Linked DNA regions of Homo sapiens: regions 1 and 2 are each linked to region 3. The links are contacts of gene promoters, found by promoter capture Hi-C in human tissues and cell types (Jung and others, 2019). All regions are on one chromosome and are shown on one strand. The core of a region is centred on a gene start or on the middle of the fragment in contact, and the rest is flanking DNA. Distances in the headings are between cores, read along the strand shown.

Evidence for each region. Contacts are between HindIII fragments. The study calls those that stand out against the background at their distance.
Region 1: a contact is called between a fragment that was not itself captured here and the fragment with the promoter of BMS1 in region 3, in 1 of the 25 tissues and cell types used here (spleen).
Region 2: a fragment that was not itself captured here is called in contact with the fragment with the promoter of BMS1 in region 3 in 1 of the 25 tissues and cell types used here (thymus).

The regions. Positions count from the first base shown.
Region 1 is chr10:42,370,957-42,374,124 of GRCh38, reverse strand. No RefSeq gene overlaps it. Among named protein-coding and RNA genes, the nearest start is that of LINC00839, 100 kb to the left of the region's middle. The HindIII fragment of the contact is 4,474 bases long and covers 1-3,168 here.
Region 2 is chr10:42,493,579-42,496,310 of GRCh38, reverse strand. It overlaps LINC00839 (long intergenic non-protein coding RNA 839), which reads right to left. Exons shown (of 5, transcript NR_026827.1): 5 at 974-2,296. Among named protein-coding and RNA genes, the nearest start is that of LINC00839, 19 kb to the right of the region's middle. The HindIII fragment of the contact is 5,604 bases long and covers 1-2,732 here.
Region 3 is chr10:42,781,472-42,784,395 of GRCh38, reverse strand. BMS1 (BMS1 ribosome biogenesis factor) reads right to left here and starts at 1,601. Exons shown (of 23, transcript NM_014753.4): 1 at 1,566-1,601; 2 at 1-34. The coding sequence starts at 1. RefSeq lists an enhancer at 1,421-1,770. The HindIII fragment of the contact is 8,695 bases long and covers 1-2,924 here.

The DNA of each region.
Region 1 (3,168 bases), core at 32-2,531, 410 kb after region 3:
AACCCTCAGAACTCTAATGAAGGGAATGACTTATAAAACTCCTAATCAAAGCGAGACAAAAATTAATTGAATACCAAGAAAATGTTTTGCCAGATTTTCATACTAAACTAGCCAGTGCTGAGATTGTTTAGATATGCAATTTGAATGAACTCTGTGGTTCAAGTCAAATTCCCTATGATAAGCCATCAGTTATTAGTGCTATGCATCTAAATTGGAGAAACAAACCTGGTATTTAAAAGGACATGAATCCACTGTTAAACATGAACTTGTGGAGAAGCTAGACAGCTACCTGGTTTTTCCTGAGTCTTCAAGGCTTTTATTATTAAAAGCTCTGCATTTCATGACTCATGGAAGAGAAAAAATAATCCAAATTAAATAAATTAAATGTGTGTGTGTGTGTCATGTATGTATGGTGATTGTTTTAAATTGCTAACATAGTTTATAACCATTGTTTGGTTTATCAAATCTATAATTCTAGGAAGACAATTAAAACTTCATGTATATTTTTGAAACCTGATGGGTCATTTAAACATTTGTACACAGGTTTTATTCAATTGTCATTTTCAATGCATGTTTTCTGGTTGTATAAAAACTTTCCCATGCAAGAAGGCTGATGTTACAACAGTAACTAAAATGTTATTAGAAAATATGTTTTTTCATTGGACATTTCTGATAAAACCTTCAATGATAGAAGTACTTATTTCACTGGAAAAGTTGTAAAACTGTAAAATGAATTATTACAGATGCTACAGCATTAAGCAAGGATAACTGAATTGACTGGATTACCTTGGTCAAATGTATTGCAGATTGATGACAATCTGATCCACTTAGTGTGGACAACATCAGTTGACCCTTAAGAAATACTCATTGGAAGGTCCATTCACTTAATAATAGAACTGCATGTATTTTCTGTTACTAAATTGTGATGTGGTTTAATGCAGCAAGGCTTTAATGCATTATGCCAAGGCATATTTTTTTCCAGGTAAAGAAAGCTTTTAATGGTCCACCAACTGAAGGACAATAATCCCATTATAATCTATAACCAAGATACTGAATATCTCCTTTTTATCCACACTGTGGCAGAACTTTGGGACCTTGAACCCCTGGGTTTATAATCTTACATTTCAGAAGGTCCTCTCCAGATTCTTGGAATTTTATTTAACTTAATCAATTAATTAATTTATTTTTGAGACAGAGTCTCGCTTTGTCGCCAGGCTGGAGTGCAATGGCGTGATCTCCCTGGTTCAAGTGATTCTCCTGCCTCAGCCTCCTGAGTAGCTGGGATTACAGGCACGCACCACCACGCCCAGCTAATTTTTGTATTTTTAGTAGAGAGGGGTTTCACAATGTTGGCCAGGATGGTCTTGATCTCCTGACCTCATGATCCGCCCACCTTGGCTTCCCAAAGTGCTGGGATTACAGGCATGAGCCACTAAGCCCTGCCAGAATTTTATATACATCAGAGACCTTTAGGTAAAGCTAACCAGATAAATTTGTCCTCAGAAGCAGATGACATTCTTAACACAGCATTTTCTCTAAGATTATGAATCAAAACTTCTCTGCTGTCATGAGACTCTTAGCTCTGTTTTTTCCTGCTTATGGCCCTACAAACAATAGAAATAAAAAAGCAGTCTTTTGTCCCCTCATGGAGTATACTATCTATGCAGAGGATTTTGCAGCCAACTTTATACATGGACAAACTTATGCCTTGAGAGATGAAAGATGAAGGGCCAGTGTGGGTGAGAAATATTAATGGGACTTTTTTTCCTTATAATATCAGAAAAGGAACATTGGCCCACTGCTCTTAACCTACTTACTTCATAGGTTAAATAGAAATTTTTCAGTATAAAGGGCATTGCCAGAAGGCCTTCACTCTTCTGGATGGGTATCAATTGTTAGATTTCTTTTTTCATGGTTTAGAGTAAATAACGCAATGATTAGTAATTTAACCCCCATAATAGGCTCTGTAGCAGATTCTACTGTAAAGGCTACACAACAGACTTTAAATTCTGTTGTGAACATTGTGCTAAGTATAGAATTATGTGCTTACTGGACAAACAGAGAAGTATCTGTGCAGTTACTGATACTTGTAGTTGCACATAAAAGAATACTTTGGATATTACAGAGATTCAGTTGTCTGGAATTAATAAACAAACTACTTGATCAAAATCAGTAGTAAACCCTTTATTTAGCTCATTCTTTGATCTATTTAATTTTAGTTGGTTCGTTTCATGTGATCCCTGGCCAAAATGCATACTCCAAACTCTTGGTATTTTTCACTTGGTAGTCTCCCTGGTGCACTGTATTCTCTCAAAAGCTATAAATGTTTGCATGCAGCCATCTCTCGAATGTCAAATAGTTCCTTTTTAACTGGAATCACAAATTCAAAGAAATATGTAACCATGAGGACACAGTAACCTGTGAATGATGTGATGAGACTGGAAACCCAAAACCATGGTAACTGAGAGTGGCGCTAAGGCCCTGAGTTTTGGCCACACTCTCACTGAAGTAAGAACCTGATTTTAAGAAAGGTGGGTTTTGGCCGGGCGCGGTGGCTCACATCTGTAATCCCAGCACTTTGGGAGGCCGTGGCGGGCGGATCACGAGGTCAGGAGATCAAGACCACGGTAAAACCCTGTCTCTACTAAAAATATAAAAAAATTGCGAGACTCTGTCTCAAAAAAAAAAAAAAAAGAAAAGAAAAAAATTAGCCGGGCACGATGGCGGGCGCCTGTAGTCCCAGCCACACGGGAGGCTGAGGCAGGAGAATCACTTGAACCCGGGAGGCGGAGCTTGCAGTGAGCCGAGATCGTGCCAATGCACTCCAGCCTGGGCGACAGAGAGAGACTCCGTCTCAAAAATAAAATAAAATAAAATTTAAAAACAGGTGTTTTTTTTTTTTTTTTTTTTTGAGAAGGAATCTTGCTCTGTCACCCAGGTGCGATCTTGGCTCACCACAACCTCTGACTCCCTGGTTCAAGCAATTCTCCTGCCTCAGCCTCCTGAGTAGCTGGGATTACAGGCATGTGCCACCACGCCCAGCTAATTTTTGTATTTTTAGTGAAGAAGGGATTTCACCACGTTGGCCAGGATAGTCTCGATCTCCTGACCTCGTGATCTGCCCACCAAGGCCTCCCAAAGTGCTGGGATTACAGGTGTGAGCCACAG
Region 2 (2,732 bases), core at 74-2,573, 290 kb after region 3:
TTAATGCACACTCTGTTAAGCTGCTCTGTGGCATCATCCTGCATGACCCCTTGGACATCTAAACTAGCCCAGTTGCCAACCCCCAAAAGTTGGTCTGCAGTTATACTAATTTGAGGTTGGGCCTGGGCATTGCAAGCAGCCTGAATGGCAGTTTCATCTGCCCACGAAGTTTTAAATTTTAAGAACTGAGCAGGAGTTAGACAAGCTCGAGTAAGAGCATCCCAGTCAGTAGGAATCATCCAACTGGAAACAGCAACATTCTTTAACAGTCCCATTACAAAAGGAGAACCTGGTCCATACTGATTTATAGCTTGTTTAAATTCTTTGAGTAATTTAAAAGGAAAAGGCTCAAATGTAGCTATAATATTTCCCTGTTGATCTGGGGGTGGTGTATTCTAACAGGGAACTGCCAAGCCTCTAAATCACCCTCTCATCTAGCTTGCTGAATTCCTGCGTGAATAGAACTAAGAGCAGTCGCTTGAGGTGCTGCTCAAACAGTCACTGGGGCAACTACTTTTCGCCCAGTGTCCTCTGGAAAAGAAAGATCTTGAAAGTCATTTTCTTCAAAATAATCATGAGGGGGTGCAGAAGGGTAAGGATGAATCTCTCCCTCCTTTGCTGCTTTAGCTTTAGCTGGTAAATAAATGTGCTCTGTACTCTCTTCTGTTACTTCATTAAACTCTCCTTCCTCCTCATCATCCGTGTGAAAAAGTTCCAAGGTGAAACAAACCAGACCCCAAACGTGTCCCATTGTTACCCTGACGCTTCCGAGCGCCCCTTCTTACTCACCAAGGAGATTGCTTTAAGAGTATTCACATGTCCTTCAGCTAGTTTTCCTTTCCAAATGTTGCTCCGGTGACCCTTCAACCTGGATTTGAGCCCCCACAATGGACTCCACTTGCTGAGACCAGCTCGGTCAGGGAGACCCTAACCCAGCAGTGCTAGAGGAATTAAAGACACACACACAGAAATATAGAGGTGTCAAGTGGGAAATCAGGGGTCTCACAGCCTTCAGAGTTGAGAGCCCCAAACAGAGATTTACCCACGTATTTATTAACAGCAAACCAGTCATTAGCATTCTTTCTATAGATATTAAATTAACTAAAAGTATCCCTTATGGGAAACGAAGGGATGGACTGAATTAAAGGAATATGTTGGGCTAGTTAACTGCAGCAGGAGCATGTTCTTAAGGCACAGATCACTCATGCTATTGTTTGTGGCTTAAGAATGCCTTTAAGTGGTTTTCCACCCTGGGCAGGCCAGGTGTTCCTTGCCCTCATTCCTGTAAATCCACAACCTTCCAACTTGGGCGTTATGGCCATTATGAACATGTTATAGTGCTGCAGAGATTTTGTTTATGGCCAGTTTTGGGGACAGTTTATGGCCAGATTTGGGGGGGCCTGCTCCCAACAGCCCTCATATTTTATTGGTGAAAAGGCAGATCCCAAGAGACAATGAAAAAGATACTTGATTTCTACTGTAGGGTTGATCCTGGAACAATCTGGGCCTGAACTGTGCAGGTCCACTTACAGAGGATTTTTAAAAACAAATGCAGTAGGTCCGTATGGGCAGTTTCCACATTTGAAACCAAACGTGGTAGGAAAATACAGTATTGGTCAGGTTCCAGGCCTACATGCACAGAGGGTTGACTTTTCCTACCCACAGGCTCCACAAGGCTGATTTCAGGACCTGGGCATACATGCATATGTGCCGAGACCAGCTTGGTCAAGGAGACCCCAACCCAGTGGTGCTAGAGGAATGAAGACAAACACACAGAAATAAAGTGCAAAGTGGGAATCAGGGGGAAAACAGCCTTGAGAGCTGAGAGCCACAAACAGAGTTTGACCCACATGTTTATTGACAGCAAGCCAGTGATAAGCATTGTTTCTATAGGTTACAGATTAGCTAAAAGCATTCCTTACGAAAAACAAAGCATACTTAGAGAGGAGTAGAGAAACAGTCTCTGGCCGATTATCTGCAGCAAAAACATGTTGTTAAGGCTCAGGCCACTCATGCTGTTGTTTGTGGTTTGAGCAGTTTTCCGCTCCGGGTGGGCCAGGTGTTCCCTACCCTGCTCCAGTAAACTAACAACTTCTAGCAGTGGGCGTCATAGCCATCAGGAGCACGTCACATTCGTGCAGAAATCCTGTTCATGGTCAGTTTAAGGCCTGTTTATGACAGGCTTAGGGCCTGTTCCCAGCATGTCCCCTTTTCTGTTTTTGCAAAGCGATAAAAGCAAAGGCAGCTTCGTCATGGTGGGCTACTTCTCGCAGGATTCGGGATCCACATCTGCAGACTACACAAAGACAAACAATACAGATTAAAGGCACAATCATCATTGAAATCACAAAGTCTCCAAGTGTCTTGATCCACTTGTATGGGTGAATAGCTGCTAATCCATCTGCAGCTCCTTCAAGCACTTTAGTTCCTGTCATTAATGTCAGATGTGCCTGAGAGGCTTGAAATATGTGTTCCTTCAGTTTTGCAATATCCAAAGATAAATTTCCAGTATGATCCTTTAAATGTCTCTTAACTCTTTCCCACTCATGCTCTGTTTCATTATACAGGTGAGGAGTAATGCAAAAATCAGAAGTATTTCAATCACATTGTTAACTGCATTCTATATTTTAAACTAACTACATGATCTCCCAACCATACGATAGTTTGTCGGAGATCATTAATCTGATTGGTTAATTTCTGGTGTATATTAGTTTGGGAATTCCACAGCAAAG
Region 3 (2,924 bases), core at 352-2,851:
TAGTGGCTATTTACCAATAACAAGTAACTCTAACCTACAAGGAAGAAGGTTGGGGTAAGGAGATGGGAGAAGCATTTTACAATCCAGGCAATACCCAGGGAAAAACAGTAAATTTCATTTATTTCTTTATGAAGAGATGATGTATTTGTTCACTGAACAAGGGTAGAAACTGCTTAACCATCCCCAATTTCATTTCTCTCTGTTATGCTATAAATTAGATGAGTTACCTCTCTTAAGATTACATTTTATGGTTAAGTTACTTTTTATTCATCTTAAGTGTCAACATCAGCAGTATCTATTTCTGCAAGGATAGAAATATACTATATCTGTACTTTTCAGCCATTTAGCCATTAGCCACATGTGGTTACTTACAATATACTTAGGGAAACTGAAAAAATGAGTTTTTAATTAATTTCATTCTAACTCCAAATAGTCACATGTGGCTACCATACTGGACAGCTCAGACCCAGGTATCAACTGGACTGATGAAGTGGTTTCCTAACTTAAACTAAAACTTAAATTTTAATAAAAAAATGTGAAACGTTTTTATGAACCTCCAATATGATCGCAGTATTACTTTTAGTACCTGTTGACTCTGTAAAACTCCTAAATTACAACTTATCTACATACATTTGAAAAATAGAAATAGCTGTACGTGTGAGATAGGACTGGTTCTAGATGACACCTGGAGACCCCATGAACTTACAGAGACCCTTCCAGTGATTTCTGAGTTACCTGGGAATCTGTGGCTAATAAATTGGCAATCACTGAATTAGTGAGTTATTTTAGGAAATCGGGCTGCATAAAATCTGACAGCTTGATTAAAAAAAAAAAGCGGAGCAGGATGCCATTTCATTCAATTAAGGTACTGTATTCATTCCGTTGAATAAATATTTGTGTCTGTCTACGATGTGCTAGGCACTGTGCCAGTAAGTGGATACAGCTATTATCTGACTTGCAGAGGAAATCCAAACTATTATCTTCCGCGCCACGCAATAAGGGCGACATTGGAAGGCTGCACAGGGTGCTACTGGAGCACGGAGGTGAGTCAGAGGCTTCCCACAGACACACACCAGCGGAAACAAAGTCTTTATGTATTACCATAATGTCAAGAACACTGGCCAGGAGTTAGGAGAGCTGGGCGCTAGGAACGCTTTGAAACCGAATAGCTGTGTGATTTCAGAGATTATGTTTCTTCTCTGCTATATTTTAGTTCAGCACTTGTACTAATGTTTCTCTCCCTGTCTTTCTTCTTGGTGGGAAAAGCACAATTTGGGGTCAACAGATCCAGCTCAGGTCTAAGTCTCCTACCGGGACCACGTCGCCAGGAAACGACGTCGCCCAGCCACCTTCCCTCCCCGTCTGGGCTCTCTGCAGGGATTCATCACGTCACTCACCCAACTACCCCAGGACACCTCCGCCAGATGAGAAATATGCCGCTCCTCGGGAGCAAAGATGACCCGGAGGACCGGGGGAGGACCTTCCCACACGCACGACTCGCGATCTTCCCAGTGCCCCAGAACCAGGGACCCCACCGCCGCCTACCCCAACCCGCAGCACCGAACCTGCTCGCAGCCGCGACTCCTCAGGTCAGCATGGACACCGCCGGAAACGGAAATTCACAGTCGCGCTGACTCGCCGGAGGGAAACAAGAAGGCAGAAAAAAGAGACCGGCATGGGGACGGCTTTCAGGGGAGAGCCTGAAGAAAGAGGGCTGAACAGCTGAGTGCGGACGCAGGCGCCGTCCGCGCAGTGCGTTCCACCGGGTCCAGGTCCTTCCAGATTCCTCTCCACCCCGCCCTCGGAATCCGCGGCCTCAACTTCCGCGGTGGGACTCCGGAGCAGCGTGCGCCGCGCTCGCCTGAGTTCTCGCCGAAGGCCAGGGCGGCTCTGCGGCCTGGCGCCGGTTAGTTAGTGTGGTGCAAAAGCCGGAAGGAGACACATTTGGTCCTGGCCTCCCGGCAGTCACCGTGCCAAGGACGAATGGACTATCGCTTGATTTGGAGTACACTTCCTCCTCTTTAAAGATTACAGATGAGGGGGATCTCGCGTTCTGGGGTGCCCTAAAGCCCTCTTTTGGCAGGGCGCAGTGGCTCACGCCTGTAATCCCTACACTTTGGGAAGCCGAGGAGGGAGGATTGCTTGAGCCCAGGAATTCAAGACAAGCCTGGGCAACATAGGGAGCCTACCTCTCTCTCTTAAAAAAAAAAAAAAAAAAAATTAGCCGGCATCGTGCCGGGCGCCTGTGGTGCTTGTGGTCCCAGCTACTCTGGAGGCTGAGGTGGGAGGATCGCTTGATCCCAGGAGGCGGAGTCTGCAGTGAACTGAGATGAGCCACTGGACTTCAGCCTGGGCAACAGAGCAAGACACTGTCTCTAAGAAAAATAAATAACATAAGGCCCTCTTTTGCCAGGACCAACAAACCGTGAGGGCAGGGACAAACTGACCCAGCCTAAACTGCCTCGCCCTCCCTAAACCCGGGAAAGGGGCTTTACCTGAGTGAACGTAGCATCTTGCCGTTTTCTTACTGCACAGCTTTACCTTCCCAGGGATCCGCCCATTGCCACCTGAGGAAATGCCTTGGAGTCCATCTAATCCCCAGCCCAGCTACTTGGGAGCCTACAGAGCGTACATTGTCAGAGGATGCATCTTCCTTTAGTCTTGGAGGGTTTCTTTTCAATATGATCCCGCTGGTGCATTCAAGGCTCAATTCTACACCAAAAACTAGGCCCACTCCTGTCACGAGAACCCCAGGCGTCAGGTCTTCTCACAGGCACCTTGTTCTTGCCCTCAGCAGCCCCCAGGTATTCACTCTGCATATTCTAGATACTGGGTGCTGGACTTGGGAGGCTACCCACGTGGCACATGCTTCCCTTATCCCTGAAGAGCTTAGAGTGTTGTAACTTCTTCACACTACACCTCTT